3 separate regions of the Homo sapiens genome follow, and regions 2 and 3 are each linked to region 1. Evidence: promoter capture Hi-C in 16 types of primary human blood cells and fetal thymus (Javierre and others, 2016). All regions are on one chromosome and are shown on one strand. Each heading gives the region's core, a stretch centred on a gene start or on the middle of the fragment in contact. The rest is flanking DNA. Distances are from core to core; before and after follow the strand shown.

What was found. Contacts are between HindIII fragments. The CHiCAGO score rates a contact against its expected background, and 5 or more counts as called.
Region 2: a contact is called between a fragment that was not itself captured here and the fragment with the promoter of SLC26A5 in region 1, in 7 of 17 cell types (erythroblasts, megakaryocytes, non-activated CD4 T cells and 4 more). The highest score is 10.8, in erythroblasts.
Region 3: a fragment that was not itself captured here is called in contact with the fragment with the promoter of SLC26A5 in region 1 in 1 of 17 cell types (erythroblasts); the score reaches 6.0 in erythroblasts.

Annotation. Positions count from the first base shown.
Region 1 is chr7:103,444,071-103,447,984 of GRCh38, forward strand. It overlaps SLC26A5 (solute carrier family 26 member 5), which reads right to left and starts at 2,137. Exons shown (of 20, transcript NM_198999.3): 1 at 2,028-2,137. It overlaps SLC26A5-AS1 (SLC26A5 antisense RNA 1), which reads left to right and starts at 1,137. Exons shown (of 4, transcript NR_110141.1): 1 at 1,137-2,449; 2 at 2,547-2,598. RefSeq lists an enhancer at 1,510-2,086 and a silencer at 2,143-2,212. The HindIII fragment of the contact is 4,246 bases long and covers 674-3,914 here.
Region 2 is chr7:104,168,493-104,172,332 of GRCh38, forward strand. It overlaps ORC5 (origin recognition complex subunit 5), which reads right to left. Exons shown (of 14, transcript NM_002553.4): 9 at 1-33. Among named protein-coding and RNA genes, the nearest start is that of ORC5, 38 kb to the right of the region's middle. The HindIII fragment of the contact is 2,228 bases long and covers 1,418-3,645 here.
Region 3 is chr7:104,185,681-104,189,800 of GRCh38, forward strand. It overlaps ORC5 (origin recognition complex subunit 5), which reads right to left. Exons shown (of 14, transcript NM_002553.4): 6 at 2,571-2,701. Among named protein-coding and RNA genes, the nearest start is that of ORC5, 20 kb to the right of the region's middle. The HindIII fragment of the contact is 539 bases long and covers 1,581-2,119 here.

The DNA.
Region 1 (3,914 bases), core at 887-3,386:
CATTTTATGAAGTTGGTCCTGGAACTAGTCTTCAAAAGAAGGATTAAAAGAGTTCATGAAATTGGATCTATCCTCCAACAGAATGGACTTACATAAAATGTACTCTGAGTCACAAAATGATTAAATTTATCCATGCTGTGTCTTTTGTGCAAGATTTCACTAGTTTGAAACCAAAAGAAAGGAAAATCATCATCTTATTTTTCTTAACTTTATTAACTTAATGATAATGAGAACACCTGGGAATACGGACGTGCTTCCTATTTATCATGATTTCCCTAGAAAACTGTTTCACTTGGGTTACTAAAATGCAGACTACCTGCAACGGTAGAAAAATTAAGATACCAGGGGGCAACACATGATATTTAGAATGAGATGAAAACTCAACTGACTTTGATCGTCAATTAAATAGGCAGTGCACACCTGCATCTACACCTCACAAGGCAATCCATTGATTGTTAGAAACTTCCTCAGTCTTCCATTCTTCTGTTCTTAGCAAAGCGCCTCTATGCGAAAAGCACTCAAATACTTGTTGGATTGAGTCAATTCTTTTGGTTTCACTCATAAATTAATGAGGAACGTGTAACTCTGTATAGTTTCAGAGTAGTTAAAGAGAGAAAAAAAGAAATGCTACATAAGAGAATTGGGGCTTCAGGTGTTACCTAATAGACTAGAAAGCTTTCCAAGAGTGCACTTAAGATATGAGCTATAGCAACCTTACCTAGGCAATTCTTCACCCTAAGTTTCTTTCTAATGCAAATTAGTTTGAATTTCTCTCTCTTCCCTCCTGTCCTTTGCCTGAAAGTCTTCTGATACAAAGCAATACTACCGTAATTAGAAGGAATGCCTGACAAAAATACATTTTAAATTTCATTTTCAAAAAGGTTGATACTTCGTATTGCATACTCCGAATTCCCCTGCATTTCTATGCTGTAAATTCCTAAACTTTAGATAATACATTTATATCTAGTGCACATTGTTCAGTTTTCAGATAGGAAAAAGCTAAATCTCAGTCTGTGCCCGCAAAAAGTTGATATTTTTTGTTGTTTTAAGAGTCTCCATGAATGTTGTTTAAATTCTAGAATCCACAGTACTCATCGAAGCTAGGAAAAGAATTTTGCCCACCCCACAGCGTATCTGAGGCTTTCTTCACAGCTAGCTGATCGGATCCTTGCAGCTGTTTCTTCTGTAGGTCTCGGAGCTCACTGAGAACGTCCAGCACGCCTTCCCGGCGGGGCCCGGCCCAGGTGCGCACTAGATGAGGCAGTCAACCAAGTCAATTGGTTCCCGATCAACTAAATCTCTCCTAAAAATAAACACTGCCGCGAGCTTCGAGAGTTCAGCGTGTCAGAGCCTCTATGATGGCAGAGCACCTGCCGCGATGCCTGATTGGTAGGGAGAAGGATTTCCCGGGAGGGGGCCAATACCAAATTTTAGGGCTGTTAGGCTCTGAGCAGTCCCTTCGTGACCGGATAAGTCAGAGACCCGGGGTTTGAGCCTTGCCCGGCGCTGAGCGGAGGGCCCAGTTTCGGGACCACAGCCTTGCTCCCTGGGAGCTCCGGGCGGCCAATGCCGGGCAAGCCCAGCCCGGCACAGGAGGAGGCAGGGCCCGTCTCCGGAAAGAGGGCCAGAGGCAGAACTGAGGGCCTGGTTTTGTGTAATTCGATTTGGATACAAACAGGCCAGACCCAAACTGGAAACGGCGAAGGGCTGGATTAGCACCGAAGGGATTCGAGGAGGCAAACGGGAAGTAAAAATGCTGTGTGGAGCTGCAGAGGGCAAGGGGACAGGGGTTGCAAAGGAAAGAGCTTCGTGAGACTTTCTCCTTCCCGGCGTAGGGACCAGCAGAGTGCGGGCAGGTCAGCCCTGTCACCGGTTCGTTTAGGGAAAAAGCGCGACATGGGGCCTGGGAGACAGGGGCAGAGGCGGTGACAGCGAGGGCCCCTGCTCGGGTGGGCCCGCGGGCCTCAGCTCAGTCCCCTCCCGAGGGACCGCGACCCCCGGCCCCGCGGCCGCCCGCGCGCACTCACCAGCCCGGGCTGCCCTGGGCGGAGCCGCCCCGCCGCGCTCCACAGCCGCTGCCTCTTCGACGCGCGCGCTGCCTCCAGGTGCGGCTCTAGGAGGAGGCGCCGCGGGCAGTGCCGGCCGCGCCCCGCGACTCCCGGTAACCCGAGCCCGCCCCGCCCCGCTAGGGCCAGGCCCCGCCGCCACCCTCCGCGCTGGGACGCCGGGGCGCGGGCATCCCTGCCGCCTACGGATCTCTTCCCAAGCACCTAGAACTTTCCAAAGCGTGCTTGGAATTTAACACCTTGGTCGTCGATCCCCGCAAATATACTCTGATGAGACCGGCTTTCTTCCCATACCGCCCAGGAGTTTCTCCAGGTGGCATTCCTGTCGCCTTGAGGTGGAACATCAGTAGAGGCTCGAGGCTGAAGCAAGCACAATACACAAGGTATAGCGTTCAAGTGGAAAACATTGCGTATTATGATTTTAAAATGAAAAAAAAACACAAAAAACCTGACTTATCTTTTCAATTACAATCATTATAGAGACTCCGATTCGTACAGGAACATTTCGAAAACAGGAAATCCTGAGGACAATGTGAGTATGAGTTTTTTTTTTTTTTTAATTTTCAAAAATCTTTGATGAACTGCCTTTGGTTAACACTTGGTTTGCAAATATTGACTATTGCACGACAAGGCAATGCATGATAAGTTATTTTCTGGGCATTTAAGTTAGAATTTATAAAACAACTTTTGCTTTTTATTAAGTAGAATAATGTAACACGTTACCCCAAGCTGGGAGAATTGCTTGAGTCCAGGAGTTTGAGACCAGCCTGGGCAACAAAGCGAGACTCCGTCTCTTAAAAAAAAAAATTAGATAGGAAATAGCTTGTTTTGCATCTAGCAACTGGGATACAAGAGAGCACCGCAGCCAGAGTGCCGGGCTCCAAGAGGGTGAGGGGTAGAAAATGATTTCAGATACATACTTCCCTCTGGCTTTATGCCTTAGCAAGGATTATAGTTGGTTCATTAAGAGCATCTTTTTTTTTTTTTTTGCTTTGTGCATTTCTGCGCGTGCACACTGTAGTGACACGTGGCGGACTAGCTGTTTGGTCTTAAAGCTGTAAATGCACGCCTGCAGACACCAGAGGCTTCTGCCAAGGAGACCCCACCTCCAGAACCTGGGCCAGGCCTTTGGCTGGGAGCGCTGGTGCTGTTCTTCATCCGAGAGGAAAGGCTAGAGATTCCCTCCCTACTCCACACGAGGGCGATCTCTTCAAGGGCACCAGACCACTCTCCGCGTCCCTAGCTGAGGAAACCAAATTTGCTTTTCTCCACGCTTTTGAACATCTCTAAACAAATCTTAATAGGGTAATTTACTAAGGAGGAGTTGGGCTCCTGGGACGTGCATTTCTGGTGTCCTTCATTTGCCACTTGGCCTTTGCCATCCTATGAAATTATTTTGTCACATACCTGTCTGTAGCCCAGTACTTCTTACACTTTAATGTGCATAGGAATCACCTGCGGATCCCGTTAAAAACGCAGATTCTGATTCAGTAGGTCTGGGGTGGGGTCTGAGATGTGCCTTTCTAACAGGCCCCTGGGTGATCCTGATAGGCTACTGGAGGACCAAACTTTGAGTAGCAACACTGGAGACAGTTGGATGATAAACTGGTTTTGCCGGTAGCACCAGGTACCTAATATACTAACACAATAATGGCAATGTTGCTAACACCTGTTCAGTGTTTACATGTAGTAGGCACTGTTCTGAGTACATGTATTTACTTGTATAGATATTGCTATTATTTCTGGTTTAGAGATGAGTTTGCTTTTAATATGAGTCTTCCCCACCCCCTACCCCCTTCCCATCCTTGCTGGCTTAATTACATTTATTTGGTATTAGAATATTAGGGA
Region 2 (3,840 bases), core at 1,282-3,781, 720 kb after region 1:
GTGTCATCTTTCTGTAGCTTTTCCCACTGGGAACTGAAAAAAAATAGAAGAGCAAAAATGAATTAAAAATAAATAAAATCAATATGGTGTACTTAAAACAGAGCCCTAGAAAAACTAAATTTTTTTATTTATTAACAAAACAGAAAAGAAAAATATATACATGCAATAAACATGTTTGTACCTGTACAAAATAATTTAATGTATATATTAGAATGTCATAAATTTATAAAGCAATACCTAGATATTAACTATTTTAATAATCTCTTTTACTATGATGACTGTTGTAGCTATCAAAAAACTTCACCCAGGCCGGGTGTGGTGGCTCATGCCTGTAATCCCAGCACTTTGGGAGGCCAAGATAGGAGGATCACATGAGGCCAGGAGTTCAAGCTCAGCCTAGGCAACATGGGGAAACCCCATCTCTATTAAAAATACAAAAATTAGCTGGGTATGGTGGCGCATGCCTATACTCCCAGCTACTTGGGTGGCTGAGGCACGAGAATCACTTGAACCTGGGAGGTGGACGTTGCAGTGAGCTGAGATTGTGCCACTGCACTCCAGCCTGGGCGAGAGTGAGCCTGTCTTTAAAAAAAACAACAACAAACAAAAAACCAATAAATACTACCACCTACCACTCGGTAAAACTCCCAATGTTCTAGTTACCGTATTAGATGCAATTGTCATATACTATTTCTAAACTCTATAGCAATCCCTCAAAGTAGGTATCACACCAGAAAACTGAGGCTCAAAGATTAAGTCACCCAAGGACATTTAGCCAGTCAATACTAGAGCTACGAGTCGAATCCTTGTAGGATGCTTGCAGAGTTCAAGGTATTTTAATTGCCCCATCCTGGACTTATTTGCAATTAAAACTGTTAAACAACCAAAACACTATTAAGAATATGAAGTGATTATGACACGACAAATTGAATTTATAAGGCAACACACTATAGTATAATGAGTAAAGAATGCCCTACGACAGTTTTAGCTGCATGACTTCGAAAAAATGAATAGTTTACTCATAAAAAAAAATAAGGCAGTTTGATGCAAAGGTGCTCACCAACTCTAAAACTCTCACAGAACTCTTAAAAATGAGCTAATTTACAGGGCTAATTTAAAAATAATGCCAGATTAGAACAATTAAATATCCAAAATCTGCATGAAGAACAGGGTGGAAGTGATAAGGATGAGTGTGGGCCTTCTTTGAGTATACTTTAAAAAAAGTAGTTTTAGCTTTTGAAGTATTCTTTGATGCCCATCTCTCACCTGTATAGCAATCAACAAGTTTAATTTTCCCCTTTCTCTTTTCCTTCTTTTCCCAATTTTTAAGTTGTAATATTCCTACCTTGTCAGAATACATAATATTTACATACTATTCTTCTACTCTTATTTCCACCTTAATTTTAGTTTGGAGCTAAGCTTAATTAAATTCAATGTTCATCATCAATCCTTTTGTTAGTTTCTCCAGTCATCTCTTTTTCACATCAAGGTCGTCCTAAGAAATGTCTTATGAGTAGTGTTCTCTGAGTTCTTCCATGTTTAATATTGTTTTTCTCTAGCCTTGATAGTTCAATGACAGGTTTGACTGAACATAAAATTATTTGGCTTACACTTCCTTTCTCCTTGAGTTTCTTGAAATTGTTGATCCATTTGTTTCACTTTTTCACTGACTTTCCTTTGTAAGTGACTTTTATTTTTTGCCTGAAAGCTCAGAGGTTTTTTTCTGTTATTTTTAAAGTCTAAATGCTTTCCAAGAAGTCTCTGTAGTAGGCTGAATAATGGCTCTGCCTCCAAAGATACCAAAGTCCAAATCCCTAGAACATGTGAATACATTCTTATGGGGTAAAAGGGACTTAGCAGATGTGACTGAGTTAAGGATCTTCAGATAGACATTACACTGCATTATCCAGATAGGCCCAATAGAGTCAGAAGGATCCTTCTAAGAGGAAGACAAGTCAGAGAGAAGAGAAAATGCTACACTGCTAGCTTAGAAGATGGAGAATGGAACCACAAGCCAGGGAATGAAGGCAGCCTCTAGAAGTTAGAAAAGGCAAAGAAATAGATTCTCCTTGAGAACCTCCAGAAGAAAAGCCCTGTGGACCTGTTTTAGACTTCTGACATACAAAACTGTAAGACAGTAACTATGTGTTGTCCTAAATCACTAAATTTCTGATAATTTGTTACAGTACAATATACTAGTACAGTTTCAGAATTGATCATTCTGGATTAATTGGGAAAATGAACTGTTTTAATGTGTAAAGCTAGGTCTTCTATTTCTGGAACGTTTTCTTGGATTATAATTTTAGATCTTAACTCCAATCCATTGTTCTTTTCTGTCTTCAGGAGCTCCAATTAAATATATGTTAAATCTTCTTTGTCTATCATATTTGTCACATCCTACCTGATTATTTTTACCTCTTTTTTTAGTTTTGTTCTCTTGATTATTTTCAGTCCTTTCCTCAATGTCTCTTACTATATTCTCAGTTGAATCTACTTTCCTTTGGATATCTTATTTTTTCATTTTCATTTCTGAGATAACTACTATTGCCTGAACTTTGCTCCTGAGTTTGATCAACTTTTATTTCACATCCCCCTGTTCTTTGTCCATTTATTCTAAGTTATTGAATTTCAAACTTAAAGAATGCTTTCCATACCTGAAAATGCTTTTTAAACAAACCTAAACCAAGTAAAGGTGTGGTATTGCAGTCTTCCTCTGCTTTGTTTTGGGTGTTAAGGGGGAAATGTTCATCAACTAAACTGTTTTATTCACATTTTCTGTTTCTTCCTAAATAATACCTTTACATGGCTTTTCCATGTTGTCTTTTATTCATTTTGAAATACCTAATGTTTGGCTTGGTCAGTAATAACAGGTGACTTTATGAATGCAGGGGTAAGGTTGCGGAATGGCACAATTACTTAATTCTAAAGTGCTCCCTTCTGGAAAAATAATGAAGTCAAGTTTCTTTAATATATGGTGCTATTATGAAAAGGAGGGATTAGCTTCTGATTTTGTCATTTCTTTTTTATTTGGGGGATGAGAGGAATCTTTAATTTCTATCCTTTCTTTCCATTCTTTTCCTTCATTACCAACTCTCAAAGGAATACCACACCCTTCTGAATCAACTACTTGTCTCTCCTCAAAACAGTACTTTCCCAAGACTATCATGCTAACTCTGGCCCCCATACTCTTAAAACAAAAAAAATACAAAAAATTAGACAGGTGTGGTGGCGCATGCCTATAGTCCCAGCTACTCGGGAGGCTCAGGTGGTAGGATCACCTGGACCTAGGGAGGTTGAGGCTGCTATGAGCTGTGATCTTGCCACTGCACTCCAGCCTGGACGAGACAATGGGACCCTGTCTCAAAAAAACAAAAAAACAAAAAACAAAATGTCACTTTGATTCTCCAGTAGCCAGTGCTCTAATCCTTCCAGCCTCAGAACTGTTCAATACTTTCTCACTCAGGGTTGAACTCTCTTTCTTCAAGTAATTTCATTTGTATTTCACCACTACTAGTCAACGTATCCCTTGTCCCAACAATCTTCTCTTTTCCTTTCAGTCTTTGTTTGACTTTTCACCTCAGCATGAGCTCCAGAGCTGGCCCTGTTGGTTTCAGTTGTTTACTTCACTACTGGTATATAAAATGAAGCTTGTAGCAATCTCTAACTCCTGTTAATACAGCAGGCAAGAGTTATGGGTGGTTCTATTAGCTCTCTTTATTGATATTGTGGACACAATTGAATTTAGGTGGCCATAATTATCCTATGGGACTAGAAGTCCTTTCATTATTATGTAAGAATCATTTTAACAAGCAAACAAGTTTTCCTACATTTAGAAGATCA
Region 3 (4,120 bases), core at 600-3,099, 740 kb after region 1:
GTACTAATTAACTAATTATAACTACTTAGTAGTTTTCCATGAATCAACACTGGAATTCTACTGAACAGCAGTTTAAGCAAACTGGTTAAAAACATACTAATTCCATTTATTTAAAAAAAATATATATATATTAGTTTGTTCCCAAGTATTTCATATCAAAATAATTCAATAAGGCACAGAAAAAGATATATATAAATGTGTAACTATATAACATATAACTAGATAACAGAAAACTAAGAACCAAATCATTAAAATAATTTCTTCCTATTCTACTTCATAAAAAACAATGATTTAAAATAGAAAAATCTTCCAAATTCTACTAAGTGTAGAGAAGAAGAATCAAAAAGAAATTATTCGCTTTAGCCAAACTTTCTTACCTTAATTTTAGATTTTCAGATCTAAGCATGGTGTAATAACACTAAAGTGTCATAATGTTAACAGCAACTGGTACACAATTTGGCTAATCAAAATAAACAACTGACCCTTGAACGACATAGGTTTGAACTGTGAGGGTCCACTTGTCTACAGATTTTTTTTTTTTTCCAACCAAACACAGATCACAAACACAGATCAAAAACAGTACTCAGGGAATACAAAACCCATGTATATGGAGGGCTAACTTTTTTACACTCAGGTTCTGCGGAGTTGATCGCAGGGTTTGAGTGTGCTAGGATTTTGATATATATGGGACTGGTCCTGGAACCAATCCCCCAAGTATACCAAGGGGCAACTGTATTGATTTTCTCTTTGGTTGAAACACTAAAATATGTTTAATAATTTATGAATAACAGTTAAAAAGGCAGTATCATAAGGTTTGTTAGAGAAAACAAACCTAAATGAATATCAAAGTAGTACTTCATTTTCTCCTATCTTAAGCTACCTATAGAACTAGCCTCTGAAAAATACAGAAATATCAATTCATAAAGCATCTTTCCAGAAAAGATCCCTGAAAAGAATATTTTTCAGGTGATTTAATAAACTTTCAAGAAATATGCCACTTACAAACTTTGAAACAAACACAAACAACACTATCTGAAGAAAAAAAAGAAAATGAATATCTTTATTCTTCCATGTTCTATATATAGAGAAAACTAAGAACATTGTGCTATTTTTCTCTAATGTTTAAGGATCCTTTTCTCTATTATTACCAATAGTAGTATAAGACTTAAACCATACTACACATTTATGAATATTATTTTTTAAAAAGCTGTAACCTCACCCTAAATAAAATCATTCCACAGTGAAACTCGAAGAACTTTAAAAAATACCACATTTAAATATATATTTCTCTCTTTACATTTTATTTTCCCATAAATATTTTCCCTAAATTTTTCCTTCTTGTACTTTATAATCTACTTTGAAATGGCTGTCAGCACAGATTCCCACAGGATTCGAGTGCTAAAGAGTGGTAACTGCAAGTTACTTTCCAGGAAAGACCGAGGAGGATTATCTGCTCCTAAGTCCATCTCACTCAGGTGCGTTTTCCTGACCCTCTCCTCTCTGTAAGTCTCTTGTGTTATCATTTCCCTCAGAAGCCAGGGATCCCAAGACATCCAACTTCTAGAGGAATGTTAGTGATAAGCTTGAACTGGAAAAACTGTTTTGTTTTTTCCCAGCTGAGAAGATGTCTGAAATCTACATGTAAATCAGAGGAGCCCTGAAATCTGAAACTTTCAAAAACATACTAAATGTGAGCATAATTTTAAATGATTGCCTTCTGTGTTCTGTCGCAAACACACACTGAAACTAAGTAATACTTTTCAGGGCAAAAACAGAAAAAGAACAAAGTGAAGAAAATGTGCTAAGAGACATAGAATCTGTTACTTTGAAAGTGACTGTTTTCCAGCCTCAGATATATTACTATTTTCTGTTAAATGGAGATAAGATCTTAATTAATTGAAGATTTCTAAAAGGGAAAACAGAAATTCTTGTCTCTTTCCTTTCCCATCCCTACAATTAAAACAAAAAAGGTCAAAGAAAAATTAAACATCAACATTTTCCAAACTGTCTATGAAATATAAACAGCTATTCTAATTGTTAAAAAAAAAAAATTAAAAAGAACCATCTATACAAAGATTACCAGCTCAGGGTCAGTGGTTAATGAAAGACCTGCAATGAAAGCTTCTGACCATACTCAAATCCATCTAGATTCTAGACCTCAATCACCGCATACATAAAACTTGAACAAAATCTGTTACAAAATATTAACAGAGTTGTAAAACTGCTCAAGTTTTTACATCTCTTTTCTGTTATTCCTCATTTTGATTTTTATGGAGTTCTGCATTTTCTGCAATTAGAGAAAAAACAAGGAAGAGTAAGAAGATCTGAGAATGACATTTTTCTGATCAGATCAAACAATCAAAGTTTGTACTAACCCACAGACATCTACCTTCTTATGGTATGTTAGTCTCTAGAGGCCATATGCAAATTCCCAGAATAAAATTTCAGTTTCTAACCTATCTCATACCATTTCTACATGGAAAACATTAAAATACATATATACACATATATGTATACACACACACACACACACACACATATATATATATTCAAGCAAAATGTTCATTTACCAGATGTCTGAGCTCTTTCAAATCTCGACAAACAGTGTAGAAAACTCCAAGAAGAATGTTAATGTAGGCAGCATAGAAATCAGCTGAATACTCTGGAGGATGATCATGGGACAGGATCTTTTGAAGGTTGCCTGTTCACAGGACACAAAATAACTTATAATGATTAACATAGTACACTAATCATATCTTCAAGCATTTTATAACAAAGGTATTAAAAAAAAAACACCCAGACCCAGCAACAATTAAGGAATAATAAAACTATTACAAGATTAGAATACAAAAGTGTGATTTGTGATATAATAAAAAATATATATTTGATCTTCACTGCAGTTCCTGGCACAGAGCTTCTAAAAACCCTCATAATTCCCTGAATGAGAAGGATAAGAGGAGTATCTTTTGTTACTCATAATAAGTCCTTTTAAAACATACCTCAATTTATACTAATGAGGTGTTTCTTGATGGGTGATATGGTTTGGCTCTGTGTCCCCACCCATATCTCATTTGAAATTTTCAGTGGAGGAGGGGCCTCGTGGGAGGTGATTGAATCATGAGGCAGACTTCCCCCTAGCTGTTCTTGTGATAGAGTTCTCATGAGATCTGGTTGTTTCAAAGTGTGCAGCACTTCCCCCTTCATGCTCTCTCTCCTGCTGGCCATGTGAAGATGTGTTTGCTTCCCCTTCACCTTCCACCATGATTCCAAGTTTCCTGAGGCCTCCCCAGAAGCAGAAGCCTGTACAGCCCACAGACTGTGAGTCTATTAAACCTTTTCTTTATAAATTTATAAATTACCCAGTCTCAGGTATGTTTATAGCAGTGTGAGAATGGACTAATACAGCGGGCCCCTAGATAGCTTCAGGATGGGGACTGGTTGTCAGAGGAACCAACCAAGTGATTAGAGCCCTGTATTGTCACATACACTGCTATGAAGAAATACCCATGACTGGGTAATTTACAAAGAAAAGAGGTTTAATTGACTCACAGTTCTGCATGGCTGGGGAGGCCTCAGGAAACTTACAATCATGGTGGAAAGCACTCAACAGGGCAGTAGGAGAGAGAATGAGTGCCAGCAGGGAAAATGCCGGATACTTATAAAACCAACAGCTTTCGTGAGAACTCAGTATCTTGAGAACAGCATGGGGGAATCGCACCCATGATTCAATTACCTTCCAACAGGTCCCTCCATGACATGTGGGGATTACGGGATTATAATTCAAGATGAGATCTCAGTGGGGACACAAAGCCAAACCATATCAAGGCCCCACCTCCTGTCCTTGGGAAAAGGAGAAGGGCTAAAGACTGAATCCATGACCAATGACCAATGATTTAATCAAATCATGACTATATAATGGCACCTCCATAAAAAAATCCTAAATGATGAGGTTCTGAGAGTTTCCAGGATAGTAAATATATCCACATGCTGAGAGGGTAGCACACTCCAGCCCCACAGGGACAGAAGCTCCTGAGCTTGGGACCCCACTGGTCCTTGTCCTGTGTACCTGTTCATCTGGCTGTTCATTTGTATCCTTTATGATAAATGGAGTAAGTACAGT